Linked DNA regions of Homo sapiens: region 2 is linked to region 1. The links are contacts of gene promoters, found by promoter capture Hi-C in blood cells and fetal thymus (Javierre and others, 2016). All regions are on one chromosome and are shown on one strand. Each heading gives the region's core, a stretch centred on a gene start or on the middle of the fragment in contact. The rest is flanking DNA. Distances are from core to core; before and after follow the strand shown. Region 1 holds the start of CLMP (CXADR like cell adhesion molecule). Region 2 overlaps GRAMD1B (GRAM domain containing 1B).

Region 1 (7,824 bases), core at 2,003-4,502:
CCATGGACAGGTGTATGGAGGAAGTGGCATTTGAGGTGAGACTTGGGGAATGAACATGATTTTGATCTGCAGTGGCAGGAAATAAGGAGGCAGTTTTGGTGGGGGGATTATCATAAACAAAAGCATAGAATTAGAAAGAAGCATGGGACATGTTTTGGGCGCATGAAGTAATTCAGGTTCCCTACCGAGTATCTGGGGGTGAGTAGAGGAAGAGCTGTGAATGACATTATGTAAAGTCTTTGATGTCAGAATGAAGTGTTTATACTCAACACTAAAAGCAATGAGACTACTAAAGGTTTTTGGAAGAAGGGAGAAAAACCATAGAATTATAGAAATTTTGAATTGAACATTCCCCTACCCCTATGCCCATTGTACAGACAAGGGAGTCAGAATAAGAACCAGAGAGGTTGCCAGACTCTTAAGTTCCAGCTTCGTGCATTCTACCAGCGGCCTCACAGGGTTACTCGGGTAGCAGTGTGCAGGATGGAGGAGAGAGGACAGGCAGGACAGGAACGTGGCAGCTACTATAGTCATCCAGGAGAGAAGTTAAGGTGGCACAATGAGGGCCGGAACGTTACGGGAGTGAGGCAGGATAGTGGGTCAGAAGAGGGGCTGAGCTGGAGCTCCTTCTCTCTTCTCCATGGGGCTCAGAGCACTTCTTATTCATTCACATCAGAGAGGTGGGTTATTTGACCTCACTCATTGGCAGGTCCAGGAAACATGGAGTCAACTGTCCCACAGTTCAGACGATGAACACTCTCCACCCTCCCAGCCCCTGTTTGATACTGTGCAATCTTTAGAAAAAGAGAAGCCAAAAACCATGCCAGCCAGGATCAGAAGCAGCCCTGGAACTGCCCCTTTAAAGGACCAGTATGATGATTTCAGGATTCAGACAACTTGCTGTGTTTTCTTTCTGCCTTTGCTGAACAGTGTCCGAGCATTCCATGGCTCCAAACCATTTCTTAAATAAGGACAGGTGCTCAAAAAGTGCAAATTTTTTTTCCCTTTCCCAGACCTCTCTCCTATAGGTCACGCTGACATCTTACATTCCATGAAGAGGATGGTGAGATCGAAGAGCCAGCCAGGTGTGGCAGAGGGTAAGCGCTTTGAGAATCTCTGCAGCCACAGGAGGCTGTAAAGCAATGCGCTTTAGCAAGCTTTCTCTGGAAGCAGGCAGCCTGCGCTCAAATTCCGTCTCCCCTAATTATGAGTGTGTGGCCTTGAGCAAGTTACCTGGCCTTTTTACAGCTTGGTTTCTTCATCTGTAAAATGAGGGTAGCCAACAAGGATGGCTGGGCAGCCAATAGGCTTGTTGTGAAGAACAAACGAATTACCAAGATAGTACATATAAAGTGTTCATATAACAAGGACTATTAGCTGTTTTTAATAAGAGAGCCCTGAAGTTTCATTCTACTAAATATCTGGTGATTGGTAACCTAGTGGTAGAGTCCAGTAAAGGGAATCAAGGTGCCATCCAGCTGCGCCAGATGTGCACAGGAACAGTATTGCAGTATTTGGTTAAGTCTAAAAGAGTTTAGAAAATAACCCCTCCCCACCTGCCTTACTTGAGCAATAGTTTGGCTTAGCCCACCTCTTTCATTTCTCTAACTTAAGTGATTATCAGCCTGAGGCTGGCCAAGATGGGTATGCATACAGTATAATTGGTTTGTAAAGTTTCAAAAAAGACAGAGAACTCTAACCACGTATTTCAGGATTTGGTGGTTCTTCTAGACACCAGCCTCCTTCAAACCTCTGGTGTTGTAGGCTAGAAGGGACTTAGGAACCATCTAGTATTCTCTTTCCAGAGCTAAAGACGTGGAAGCCCTGGATAAGGAGTAAGTTGTCTGAGGCCACCCAGCTAGTCAGTTCAAAACCAGGACCAGCTCTCCCGTGGCCTGGTGTTCAGGGTAGTGCTCACTCTTGACCACTGGCTGGCTCTTTGATTTTCTGATCTCCAGCTAACTGTGGGGCCTGTCTGCAGTGGATCCCATGCTTCAGGGTGCATAGTGACGTGCCCTTGGCTCTCCCTGACTGCCTTTCCTGCCCTGGCTCCTCAGACATTTCCAGTCACTCCGGTGGGCTCCTACCACCCACATCCCTGATGTCCTCTCCTGCAAACCTGCCTCTGCCTCAGGGCCTCTGAGGCCCCAAGAGTCCTGCCTGGGGGACCCCAGGAAGGGACGCTCAGGAGGACTCTTCCCTTTGCTCTGGAGCCTGTTTCAGGAAAAAGTGGTGCTTGCTCTATTTCCCTCTGTTCTGGTTCCTCTGCTGCGTTTTTTCCAAGTCTTCTTCACTCTCTGTGCTCGGACTCCCCCAGCCTTGCTCTTCTGTTTTACATTCCTGTTCTCCTCTTTTTCTCTCTCCTTCCCAACCCTTCCCCTTTCCCCTTTTCCTTCCTTCCCTGTGTGACTTGGGGCATTTGCATCTTCCTGGTGCTCCTTGGGCCCTGCCCTTTTTCCCTCTCCCCTTTCCTCTCCAACCCTGCCTATCCCCCACTCTGCTCACCCTTTAACACATCTGTTTCTAATCTGAGCCTCGGAGGCGCCTGTTTGAAACAACAACAAAAAACCCCCACCCTCAGGAACCTGGCACAAAAATTCCTGGATAAACCTTCCCTCCACCAATTCTCCACTTTTCCCAGATACACCAGAAACTAAACACCGCCCTAAAGAGGACCCTGCACATCAAACGGTTCCCCAAGCCTGTTCAAGGGCCCAGATGTGCGAGACAATCTCGATGGCCGACTGGGCGGCCCTCGGTTGCCAGATGTGCTCCTCCGTGGCCAGGAGGCAGGGACTGAAAAGCCGGCTGACTCCAGGGGCTGCAGGGACACCCGGTCAGAACCGGCGTCTTTCCCGGACGCAGGGCTGCGTTTGCCCACGGCCATCCAAACTCCCGCCCTCCCAGAGGCACTCACCTAGCAAGAGGAGAAGGAGGAGGGACATCCCGATCCCCGGACGCGGGCGCTTCCCCGCTCAGCTGCTGCTTGGCTCCGGGGCGGCCGGGCGCCTCCGACGGACCTCGGGCGAGCTGGGCGCGGCGCCTCGGGGTGCGCGCGAGGTGGCTGCAGCCATGTGCCGGGCGGGAGCCGGCCCCGCGCCCCGTGCCCCTGGGGGCAGATGGGCTCCCGGCGCTCGCCCCACCAGCTGGCGCCCGGACGGGAGCCGGGACCAGGGTCAGGGAGGAAAACGCGAGGCGAAAAGGCGCTACCGCTTCGTGGAACACTTTTCCCTGTTTGGAAAGAAAAAGGAGTGAAGAAAGAGAGAGGGAAAAAAAAAATTCAGCTGGAACCACATGGTTGCCTCCTACCGCAGCCCCTCCCTCTCTCTCTCGCTGTTCCCTCCTTCCCTCCCTCCCTCCCGCGCGGCGTTTGGGGTTTGCGGTGGGGGCCGGTCGGGGAGAAGCGTGAGCTGGCCGGGCAGGGAGGGCCGGGGGAGACCTGGGGCCGTGCAGAGGCGGGTGGGTTGAGAGGCGCCGGGCGTAGGATTGATTCTTTGCAGGAGGCATTGGTGACACCTCGGCTGAGAGCCCATGGACGAGGCCTTGTCCGTTCCTAGAGCTCTGCTCTCACTTGGTCCTTCTCTCCACTTCTCTCTCGCTTCTTTTTTACTCTCGTTTCTCTCTGCTTCCACGTCTCTCACAAATCTGGCGTTTCTCTCTTCCATCTCTTCCTCTCTAGGTCTCCTTGTTCGCATTCTTGCCTCTCCCTCCTCGTCTCCTCATGCCCTCTCCCCTCTGTCCTCTGCGCTCTTCTCGCCTCTCCTCTCCCTCCCCGTCTGGTTCTGTTAGTGTAAAGCCACCAGACTGACCAGGCCGACGGCGGGGCGCGGAAGTGGGTGCGAAGGCAGCCAGCGGCCGGCCGACCAGGGCTCTCCCCACCGACTGCCTGCTTTGGCACCCGGCTACCCCCCTTGGCCTGGCTTTCCTGGGGCCTTTCGCGTTCGCTCGCTTTCTACTGTCGGTATTTGCAGCAGCGCTCCCTCAGGTCCCGAGCAGAGCTAAGCCAGCCAGCACCCAGGGGAAGGGGACCCACAGCCCCGTGGAAAGAGGTCTATCGAGATGCTTTGCAGCAAAGTGCTCTGCACGTGGCCCTGGCCAAAATGTGCACCACCCCCTTTCAGAAAGAACATAAGGCAGAGGGAGCAGAATCCCCCTGGTGCCAGGGCCTGCGCGCCCGGGCTCCGGGAACCCGGCCCAGGAGGCTCGCGGAGGGCAGGAGGCTGGCGGCCGGACGGGGGCGGACGGTGGGTTCCGCGGAGCCGAGCAGCCCCGCCCCAGGGTCGGCCCCTGGGAGTCTGCCCTTCACTACCCTGCTGCTCAGCGGCAGCGGGAGGCAGCGAGACTAAGAAAGGGCAGTGAGGGTGGCGCTCAGACCTCAGCTGCCTGGACCTCCTGCCCTGACCTTGTGCCCAGGGCCTCTCAGAAACTCTGGTCCCAGTCTCTGAATGTCCCTGGAGGGCTTCTCCCTCAGCTGCCCAGAGGCATGATGACGCAATCGCTCACCTTCGGCCTCGCCAGAGCCCAGGTTGGAAGCCGGGGCCAGCGCTCTTGAGAAGAAAGATGAACCCCGCCGGGGCCGGTGGGCTGCCGAGTCACACATTTGCAATGAAATGCAAATGTGTAATGAAAACCCGTCCCATTTCGCAGACTAGGAAAGCAAAGGCCTGGAGAGGTTATGGAAGTTTCACAAGGTCACTCAGAGGACTTGCAAAAGCTGGGGCTGTTCCTAGGGCTCGCGGATCAGCTGGAGCATTGCTTTAGAATTGCAGCATTTCTCCACTCACTCCCTCACCCCTTCGATACCGATGTGTTAGCATCCACACTATGCCAGGTGCTTTTTTAGGTGTGAGGACACAAAGTGAGTAGAACTTGGAAGTTGACATTTAAAAAAACCTGGGAGGAGTATGTCATGAACACCAAGTATGGACCCAGAATCATATTATATTATTACGTGGTTTTTATTGGGTCATATTATTGACCTTTTTATATCATTCTTATTATACTGCTAAGGGATAGTCACTGAAAAAAAAATCACCATCCCTTAGCATGAATAGGAAGACAAGGAAACTATAACTTAGAGAGGCCTAAATATCTTGCCCCAGATCACAATAGAATTAAAATGCTTCTATTCCAATATTAATATTCTAATATTTAAAAATATTATTTTTTATATTGAGAAGTGTTTAAAAGGTCTCTTTGACTCCGAAGTAACTTTATTTTCCATTTCATACTAATTGTCTAATAGGGGAAATAGATACATTCACAACTATAATTTGTAAATGAATATGTTGAAAAAACCGTCTTTTTTCTTTTCTTTTTTTTTTTTTGAGACAGAGCCTCACTCTGTCACCCAGGTTCACTGCAACCTCTGCCTCCTGGGTGCAAGTGATCCTCCCACCTCATCCTTCCAAGTAGCTGAGACTACAGGCTCACACCATCATGCCCGGCTAATATTTGTATTTTTGGTAGAGATTGGGTTTCGCTGTATTGCCCAGGCTGGTCTCAAACTCCTGGGCTCAAGCAGTTCACCTGACTCGAACTCCCAAAATGCTGGGATTACGGGCATGAGCCACCATCCCCAGCCAAAAACAGTAATTCTTAAAGGCTGGAGAAGGTGGCAGAAAAACTACATACAGAAGGTAACTCTTTTGTTGTTTCTGCTTTATAATTAAAAAAAAAATTGACATTTTGGGCTTACAAAAAAGTTGAAAATAGTACAAAAATTCTTCACCCAGATTCCCCCTTTTTATTTCTCTCTAGAGGTGGGGTTTTTGCACAAGTTTTAAAGCCTCACCTCCACCCCACCGCTGCTGGTGGCCTTTCTCAAGAACTTAGTAATGCCAGTGCTGTTTATTGCTTGAGGGCTGGTGTGCGCATGAAGACAGATGTGTGTGGGTGTAGGCAGATATGTGTTTAAACCCAGTTGCTCAAGCCGAAGGTAACAGGCGCCTTTGGCTCTAGGTCATTAGTCACCAGCACAGGAAATGATTAGACTGAGATTGGGTCACAAGCACTCAATTTTCCCAGCCCCAAGTCTTGTAGCCAATATGGCACATATTTTTTGGAAGAGGATCTTTGGGTCCCTGAAGGTGTCTGTCTCTAAATCTGAAACCTCTTTTCTATTGGCATGGGTCTCTGGGCAGGAAGAGCAGAGAGAGAGTGCTTCTGCGATGGTTTGTAACTCACATCCCATCCCTACCAGTGCTGGGCCCCACTCTGGGCTGGGTGCCTCGGAGGATCCCAAGATTACGAGATAGTCCTTACCCTGAATGGACGGACCTCTCAGTTCAGAGGGAGAAAAAACACCAACATGGGAAATGTTTCAACAACAATACAAGAAAGTTAGATAGTTAAATGCCACAGTAAATTATCCTGACAATAAAAAACAGTGGGAATTCCAAGAAAGGAAAGAGCACCTTAGGCTGGGGTAATTGCGGAGGAGAGCAATGATGGAACCAGCCCTTGGGGGATGAACAGAATGTCATTAGAAGAGATGAGCTGGGGAGAGCCATGAGTGGGGGCATTCCTGGACAAAGACATGGAGTTAGGAATAGCTTTGGCATATTGAGGGGCCTTGAATGAAATGAAATGCTTGAAATAAAAATTGTTGTTGAAGCAAAATGCCCTGGGGGGCAAAACTGTGACAAGTTCCAAATGTGAGGAAAAGGATTCTAGAACTCGTTCTGCAGTGTTCTTCCAGGCTCTTTGAAACAAATTTAAGAAAAATCACCTTGATGAGAGCCTTATTTTAGGAAGTGGAAATTGGCAGCTTCTGCCCAGAGGTGACTACAACAGTTGGCCAGGGTGGAGAACTTTTGCGACCCTTTCATATCTGTCAAGCTACCTTTGTCTCAATATTTTGTAGAGTGATATACATATGCAGATTCAAGACACTTCCCTTGTCCTTCCCAATTTCTGGGGAGCCAAAGAGTACCACCCTAAACCTCTCCTTTACAGGAATTCTAGAGCTATCAACGGGAGTGTATGACGCACTGGAGAAGAAACCTGAAGGACAGGGACTGTTTAGGACCTATTGTATTAAATAGGCAGATAAGATGAGGGTAGTGAAACAGTGTAGAAGACATTGGGAAGAAAGATTTGACAGGGTTAAGTACATAACAATCAATGTGGGTGAAAAGAGTGGAAGAGAAAAGAGGCACCGAATCTGAGTATAAATGACTGAATACATTGTTACATATGCCAAGATTGATACCGACCATTTATCTACCTCCTGGTATATTCCAGAGATTATAAGCATGATTAACAGGTATCACAATATCATACCACAATGAAGAAACTAAGGTTAAGGTTTAGCAAGATTAAATAAATTGCATATCATCCCATGGTTAGTAAATGATTGAAGCAGGATATAAAGTCAGGAGATTCAAAGCTTTTACACCTCACTGTCTTTTGAATAGTACTGCTGACAAACTAGGGAAGTTGGGTAAGTTAACTTGTCAGGAATGGAAGGATAAGTTACCCAATTACGTGGAGACATAGTAACTGAAGAGCTGATAAATCATCATCCATCCATCCATCCCTCCATCCATCTTTCTATTCTTTCTTTCAATCAATAATACAGCAAATCTTTGTTAAACACCTACTATATGCCAAACACTGGAAAATCAATGGTGAACAAAGGAAAAGTTGTCCTTGTCCTGCAGAAGCTTCTGGTGAGTTAAGGGAAATGAACAACCAATAAGCAATTACAACATGGAGTGAGATATGCTCTGCTCAGAGAAGAGCAGAGTGCTATGGAGATCACAGCAGGACCTTACACCTAGCGTAGGAGATGCCAAAAAGACATCCTGGGAGAAAAGTGCT
Region 2 (7,824 bases), core at 1,630-4,129, 280 kb after region 1:
TGCATTACAGCCTACATGCCCCCATGACGGCTTGGGACCACCTGAATCTCTCAGAACCCCTTCTGGGCATAGGAAGCTATGACTCCTGTAGGGTTGCCTGGAAGAGAAAGAGCTGTTTCTCCCTAGGAAGCACCTACTCAGTAGAGGTTGCCATATTCCGTCTTTCTAGCAGTAAAGCCGTGCCTTTCAGAGGGCAGAAGGACGGCTTCCTGGTGGTTCGTGGGTTTAGTCTGTACTTTCTGCACGTGTCCTGGGTACAGGGAGGGAGGAAGGGAGATCACTGGAATCATGAGAATTTGCCCAGCCCGCATTGCAGAGCTTCCTGGTCAAAGCCTAGTGAATTTCTCCCTTGTGGAGCGTGCTTTGGCTCAGATTCCTGTGGATTTTTCCCAGTCCTTCCAGTGCTGCTGGTATTAATGTGACCTTCCAGGATAAGCTCCTGCACTAGCACGCTGGTCTTAAACAAAACCAGGATTCTGCTTCAGCTGGTTTCCCTCAGGAATATCCCAGAATTTTACCAAGAGCTTCCCATCTTATTTAGGAACATGGTCTAGTGTTCCAAAATTTAATTTATACAGTGAATTTTATCTGAAGCTTGAATGTACAGCAGGAGGGATTAAAGTCATCCTAGTTCCATATCTAGCTGTCTTGAGCGAATGGCAAGCAGTTGCTTATACAAATTCCCTTCCTTGCAGTGTTAAGCCATCTTTCAGTCATCCGGTGCCCAGGCAAGGACATTCCAAATCCTAGTTTAGAGTTTCTTTTTCAGGGTTTCCAACAGACAGTTTCATCTGTTAGTGCCCTCTGCTGGACTTTCTCCAAGTTCTTTTCAACCTCCTGAATCCCAGAGTGGACGCAGACTGGATGTCTTCTCCCACTAAGGCCTTGACTAATCTGGAGTGGAGGGAGGTGTGCTTTTTGACCTTGTAGCATGCTGCACTCCTTTATAAACACCTTGGCCTGGAGGTTGCTCTTTTCATGGTCTCCGAAGACTGGTAGGTTTATTTAGGGAGCAGCGTGAGTTGCCTGGGGTCCAGGTGGCCTATATCATTGAAAAAGGCTCATATAAGAGAAGAATTGAAAGGGTGTGTGTGAGAGGGTGAGGCAGTGTCTGAATCTCTGGAAATTCTGCTCAACAATATTATTTCATGGGATTGAGTGGAGGAGTGGTTGGCAGCAATTCATCCATTTAACTTCTTTTTTTTTTTTTTGAGACGGAGTCTCTGTTATCTAGGCTGGAGGGCAGTGGCACGATCTTGGCTCACTGCAACCTCCACCTCCCAGGTTCAAGTGATTCTCCTGCCTCAACTTCCCGAGTAGCTGGGATTATAGGCGTGCACCATCACACCTGGCTAATTTTTGTATTTTTAGTAGAGACAGGGTTTCACCATGTTGGCCAGGCTGGTCTCGAACTCCTTACTTCAGGTGATCTACCCGCCTCGGCTTCCTAAAGTGCTGGGATTACAGGCGTGAGCCACCGCACCCGGCCCATTTAACTTCTTTAAGACTGTTGAAAAACAAGCTCAAATAATGGGAGGAAATAGGGCCAGGCCTCTGCCGAGGGTACTGGAGGAGGAAAGATCCTGTATATACCCTATGCCTGTTGCCACCATGGATTTATCTAGAGTCCCTCCAGCTCGATGTTCACCTCTCTGATGTGTTCCCTGGAGCTTTCCAACAGAGGTGTCCACCAGCTACACCTTGTTCATTTTTCTGCTGTTGTTGCATCACAGTCCACGGTGAATATTTGTATGTCTTAGACTGGGAGCTCTTTGCTGGAGAGACCTTGTCCTGATCATCTTTACAGTACTGTCTCCTAGCACAGTGCTGGGTACATGAGAGTGGTAAACGGAATTGAACTAGAATGCCTTTTCTTCTCATTTCTGCATGTCTTGAGTCTATCCAGTTTTAAGTGGCAGCACAAAAATCTTGTTGTTAAGACAGAATTGTCTTACTGGTCCCAGAAGGACATGACATTTCTGCATTCTGTGTTCCCATAGCACTTAATACATAGTATTGAGAGTTATCATTTTTCTGCTTTTAAATATAGTTATTTATATTGAATCTTACTTTCCTGATTCTAAGCACTTTGAGAGCAGGATCCTTGTTTGATTCACGTCTTTCTTTTCCTATAACCCATAAAATGATGCCTTGCATATAGGATAATGGCACCTGGCATTTACATAGCAGTTAAAATGTGGCAGATGCTCTTTTTCATACTTCACATTTCTTTCTCTTTCTTTCTTTCCTCCTTCTTTCTTTCTTTTTCTCTTTCTTTCCCTCTCCCTTGCCTCCCCTCCCCCCTCCCCCTCCTCTCCCCCTCCCATCCTCTCCCCTTCTCCCCCTTCCTTCCCTTCCCCCTCCCCTCTCCCTCCCCTCCCTTTCATTCTCCCTTCCCTCCCCTCTCCTCCCCTCCCCTCCCCTAGCACAGTGCTGGGTACTTGAGAGTGGTAAATGGAAAATGGAAATGAAAATGGAAACGGTAAGTGGTAAATGGAATTGTCACTGGACTAGCTGTCTTGAGCGAATGGCAAACAGTTGCTTATACAATTCCCTTCTTTGCAGTGTTAAGGCATCTTTCAGTCATCGGTGCCAAGGCAAAGTCATTCCAAATCCTAGTTTAGAGTTTCTTTTTCAGGGTTTCCAAAAGACAGTTTTATCTGTTAGTGGCCTCCCTTTCCCCTCCCTCCCGTCTCCCTTCCTTTCCCTCTCTCTCCCCTCCCCTCCCTTCCCTCCCTTCCCCTTTCCCTTCTCTCTCCCTTCCTTCTCCTTCTCCCTTCCTTTCCCTTCCTTCTCCCTTCCTTTCCTTTCCCTTTCTCTTCCCTTCCCTTTCCTTTTCCCTTTCCCTTTTCCTTCCCTTTTCTTCTCTTTTTTTGTTTTTCAGATGGAGTCTCACTCTGTCGCCCAGGCTGGAGTGTAGTGGCGCGATCTCGCTCACTGCAACCTCCGCCTCCCTGGTTCAAGTGATTCTCCTGACCTCAGTCTCCCAAGTAGCTGGGATTACAGGCGCTTGCCACCAAGACTGGCTAATTTTTTTTATTTGTTATTTTTTATTTTTTTTAGTAGAGATGAGGTTTCACCATGTTGGCCAGTCTCATCTCAAACTCCTGATCTCAGGTGATCCACCCGCCTCGCCTCCCAAAGTTCTGGGATTACAGGCGTGAACCACCACACCCAGCCTCTTCTCTTTTTCTTTCTTTGTCCTTCCTTCCTCCCACCACAGTCTTCCGAGTAGCTGGGACTCCAGGTGTACACCATCATGCCTGGCTAATTTTTTTTTTATAGAGATGGGGTCTCACCAGGTTGCCCAGGCTGATCAGGAACTCCTGGGTTTGAGCGATCCTCCGGTCTCAGCCTCCCAAAGTGCTGGGATTACAGGCATGAGCCAACCCGCCTGGTTCCATACTGTAGACTCTTAACCATTGTCTTGATGATGCTTCGTGTACACATAGCGTGATGTGAATACTTGTTGGATGCATGTAGTTTGATATTTATTTGAAACCAATACACAGTTTGAACATGACCCATTGCTGCCTTCTCTGCCATCTGAACTGTTTTCTAAGCCATGGGAAGGCAGGCCAGAGAGGGGCGCCAGAAAGGAGGCAGTTCCTGGTTCCGGTTCCTGAGGCTCCTTATTGGTTTTCCTTGTAGTTCTGGTTTGGAAGTCTACAGTGCCATCTAGTGGGTAAACTTGCAAATATCAGCTTAGAATTATTTTTCTGAAATCCTGGTAGATGGCCTTGAGTTCTGGGAGCCCCCTTTATTAGTTTAAAATTTTGATTGCCGGGGGAGGATAGGGGGACTAGGAAGAACCAGCCCATCCTGGCTCAGCGGGGTCAAGTTTGACCCCTGCTTTGAAGAGGCTGCAATGCTGATTGTGGTTGGCTTGGTTGAGCCCTGTTGACTGTTGTAAATGGTGTGTTCTCCCACAGTGTAGACCCTGCTTCTGGAGCTGTGTGGGCTTTGGAATTTGAGTTACAGTCATCTGTGTGCTGCCTACTGTGGAGTAACACTTGTCCCAGGTTGTATATAAGGGGATGCTTGATTCATATAACAGGCCAGTTCCAAGTAAGACATCTCATGAGTTAACGACATTATAGTGAAATTTGGTTATGTGGAGTTGGTAATAGGCAAATCCATCCGAGCTGGCAAAGTGAAAATGATGAGCAGCCACTGCATAGTGAACGAGCTGTAAAAACGTGCTGCATGGAAGGGAAGGAGAAAGGGATTCCGTACACAGTGAGTTCTGCCGAGCAGCCGGAGGCTTTGTGTATGGCGCTGTTCCGGTTTCTGGTGTGTGTGGTAACGTGTATGGTTTCTTGTGTCTGTGTTTGAAAATTGGATGTTAATTGCCTTTCAGGTCATTTACTTCTTGCTGGAAGAACGGAACATAAGAGCATGTGGTAACTGTGACCACAGAACTCATGTGCTTTGGCTGAGAGTGTACAGACACTGGAGCAAGCACTTGCTCGGCAAGATTGTCCAGTGTGCATTCTACTGGGCATCTAGGCTAAGGAATATACTCTATAGAGACCAATGCATCTTAGTGCAGCAGGCGATCCACCAGAACAAGGAGAAAATGTTGGTTATGTGGTAGCCTTGGTTATAGTGACATTTATGGTAATAGGGATTTATTATTAATAGAACCTATGTGAAGCAGGGGTTGGCCAACTTCCTGGTAATAAGGATTTATTATTAATAGAACCTATGTAAAACAGGGGTTGGCCAACTTTCTCTGTAAAGGGCCAGATGGTGAGCATTGTGGGCTTTGTGGGCCTATGGTGCCCACAACTCTGTCTTAGTTACTCAACTCTGCCTTAACCACTCAGCTCTGACATGGTAGCAGGAAAATAGCCAAAGATAATATGTAAATGTAGGCTTAGCTGTGTTCCAGTAAAACTTCATTTGTGGACACTAAATTTAAATTTCACATCATTTTCACCTGTCATGAAATATTCTTTTTTGGATTTTTTTTCTTCCAACCACTAAAAAGTACAAAAACCACCCTTAGCTCACGGGGCTGAGCAAAAACACGTGGCTCTAGATTGAGCCTAGAGTTTCTAGTTTGTGGACTCCTGATCAGATGGCTGGAGTATTTAATAATAATTAATAAAAATGATTTGTTCATCAGCTATGCCAGCAGTTAGTGTCATGAAGTGTCTGATAAGCTTTTCTTTCTCTGGAGTAAGAGGAAAGGCCATTCTTTCCCGTATTATTATAAGATATGACCTCCCAAAAGAACTCTGCCTGAACTAAAGCTGTGTAATTATCTCACTTACAGTGCCTTAAGGTGTGGAGAGTCCACCCTTTATTCCTTCTTCTATTTCTCATCCGCCTCAGCCTCCCCTGGAGGCAGAGTAGCAGACTAAGTGACCCCAGACCCCATCCAGCCTTTTGCCTTACTGGAGAAGCAGACTAGGTGACCCCTGGCCCCATCTAGTCTTCTGTCTTACCGGAATCTCCCTCCTCCCACACATCTCACACCCTCCCCACAACACCCCACCCAGTCCATGTCAGTGGCTTGAGAGTCTCCGGTGGGCTGAGGAGAATGGGATTATAATCCCATCAGAGAGAGGAAGAGGAGTGGGTAGAGAGAATGCTGGAGGCATTTGCTCTTTGAGGTTTATATAGCCAGGGAAGAGTGTGGTAGCAGGGCGAGATGGGCCTCTTCTGTTTTGGCTGGCAACAGACAGTCTGCAGGTGTGATGGCTGGGGATTTTATCAGCCTTGTGTCATTTCTCATATGGTCTAACTGTGCATTCTCTATGCTAGACTTACTTGGGGGAACTTGTATCTTTAAAATTTTGTAACCCCATGTCTTTGTCTAGTTGAAGTCTAAGTGACCTCCCCCAGGGTTGAGAAAGAAGCTGAAGTTAACGGTTGATATCCTATGTCTTTCCTCAGCAGCCAACAGAGCAGTCAGCAGAGCAGCCACGATGATGATTCTAGCAGGTTCCTGAGTCCTCGAGCGCGGGAAGAAAGGTAAGGTCCAACTCCGAGGGCGAGATGGGGGCAAAGAATAGAGGGGGTGGGGTGGAATGTTTGAGGAAGATTGTGCCTCTGCTCTGTGCAAAAAAATGTGGAAAACTGAAGAGGAATGGGAGCGCCTGAGACCTCTGTGCTTGACTGATTAGAAAGACAAAACTTTCACCCCATAAAGGAGAAGGAGCAACACAAAGGGGCTGGTTCCAGAGGCTTTTTGTGTTCAGCAAAAGAAGTCAACGTGTGGCAAACCAAATAGGTTGAAAAGACTTCATACTGAGCAGGGCTTGGTGGCTCACACCGGCAATCTCATTACTTTGGGAGGTCGAGGCGGGCGGATCACTTGAGATCTGGAGTTCGAGACTAGCCTGGTCAACACGGTAAAGCCTCATCTCTACTGAAACTACAAAAATTAGCCAGACATGGTGGCATGTGCCTCTAATTCCAGCTACTCCGAGGCTGAGGCAGGAGAATCGCTTGAACCTGGGAGGCAGAGGTTGCAGTGAGCCAAGATCGCGCTACTGCACTCCAGCCTGGGCAACAGAGGGAGACTTCGTCTAAAAACAACAACAACAACAACAACAAACTTTACAGTGGAGTTAGGACTTGAGTCATGCCCTATAGGTTGGGTACAATGTGGGTCAGGAGGTGAAGGGCATTTTGTGCCTGAGGAAGCTGCATAGCCCAGGATGTCAGGTGTTGGATGGTGTCAGGTGGCAGCAGCGTTAATGAAAAATGAGGTGGGATGTCTAGGATGCAATGAAAATATGGAGGCTCTTCAATGGTTGGTTGAGGATTGGAGATACAGCTAACTAAGCACTCAGTGTGAGGACCAGCCAGCACCTGCTTCATGCAGTGCCTGTGAATTGTAGACAGAGGTAAATTTGCTGTAGCAAGTTAAACTTCTTTGCCTACAGAAAGTTGATGGTATTGACGTTAACCAAAAGGAAGTCTCAGCTGGCCTACCGCAGGGGCTCTGCTTTTGGTCTAGCTCTGTTTATCGTTTTTATCAACAAGCTGGGTGAAAAAGCAGAAGGTACTTTTACCACATTTATCAACTTATGGTGGACCCTCTGCTGAGAGGGGGTAGAGAACACCAAGGATGATAGAATCAAGACTTAATATTATTTTGAGTAGAACAATGGGTGGAAATCAAGGAGATATTTTCTTTTTAATGGAAATGTGATTTTTTAATTTTTTAATTTTTAATTTTTTTTTTTTCTGAGACAGAATCTCGCTCTGTCACATAGGCTGGAGTGCAGTGGTGCAATCTCAGCTCACTGCAACCTCCACCTCCTGGGTTCAAGAGATTCTCCCACCTCAGCCTCCGGAGTAATTGGGATTACAGGCAAGTGCTACCATGCCCCGCTAATTTTTATATTTTTAGTAGAGACGGGGCTTCCCCATGTTGGTCAGGCTGGTCTTGAACTCCTGGCCTCAAGTGATTCACCTGCTTCAGCCCTCAAAGTGCTGGGATTACAAGCGTGAGCCACCATGCCTGGCTCACTGTGAAGTCTTGAAATGTCTATGAAATGTGATCTTGTATATTTATGTTAGAAAAGATTTATTTCGCAAGTGTAGAATTGCCGCAGGGAGCCTAATTTGATAGCATTTCATGTGAAAAAGAAAGAATATTTTTATTTGCCAGCCAAATATGAAACAATAATATGACACAACTACCAAATGATCTTTGAAAGTTTTTAATTCATTCATGGGAGCATGGTGCATGGATTAAACAAAAGAAGAAGATGTCACTGTAATCTGTACTAGTATGACCATATTTCGTGTATTATTCCAGTTCTTTGAAAGTGGATGTGGATGCATTAGAGTCCATAAAAGAAT

What was found. The method cuts DNA at HindIII sites, captures the fragments that hold promoters and counts their contacts. A CHiCAGO score of 5 or more calls a contact.
Region 2: a contact is called between a fragment that was not itself captured here and the fragment with the promoter of CLMP in region 1, in 1 of 17 cell types (M0 macrophages). The highest score is 6.9, in M0 macrophages.

Annotation. Positions count from the first base shown.
Region 1 is chr11:123,191,996-123,199,819 of GRCh38, forward strand. It overlaps CLMP (CXADR like cell adhesion molecule), which reads right to left and starts at 3,253. Exons shown (of 7, transcript NM_024769.5): 1 at 2,918-3,253. The coding sequence starts at 2,945. The HindIII fragment of the contact is 6,233 bases long and covers 1,156-7,388 here.
Region 2 is chr11:123,474,912-123,482,735 of GRCh38, forward strand. GRAMD1B (GRAM domain containing 1B) reads left to right here. Exons shown (of 20, transcript NM_001387025.1): 2 at 5,905-5,982. Among named protein-coding and RNA genes, the nearest start is that of GRAMD1B, 49 kb to the left of the region's middle. RefSeq lists enhancers at 3,510-3,804, 5,460-5,509, 5,550-5,669 and a silencer at 6,907-6,996. The HindIII fragment of the contact is 4,574 bases long and covers 593-5,166 here.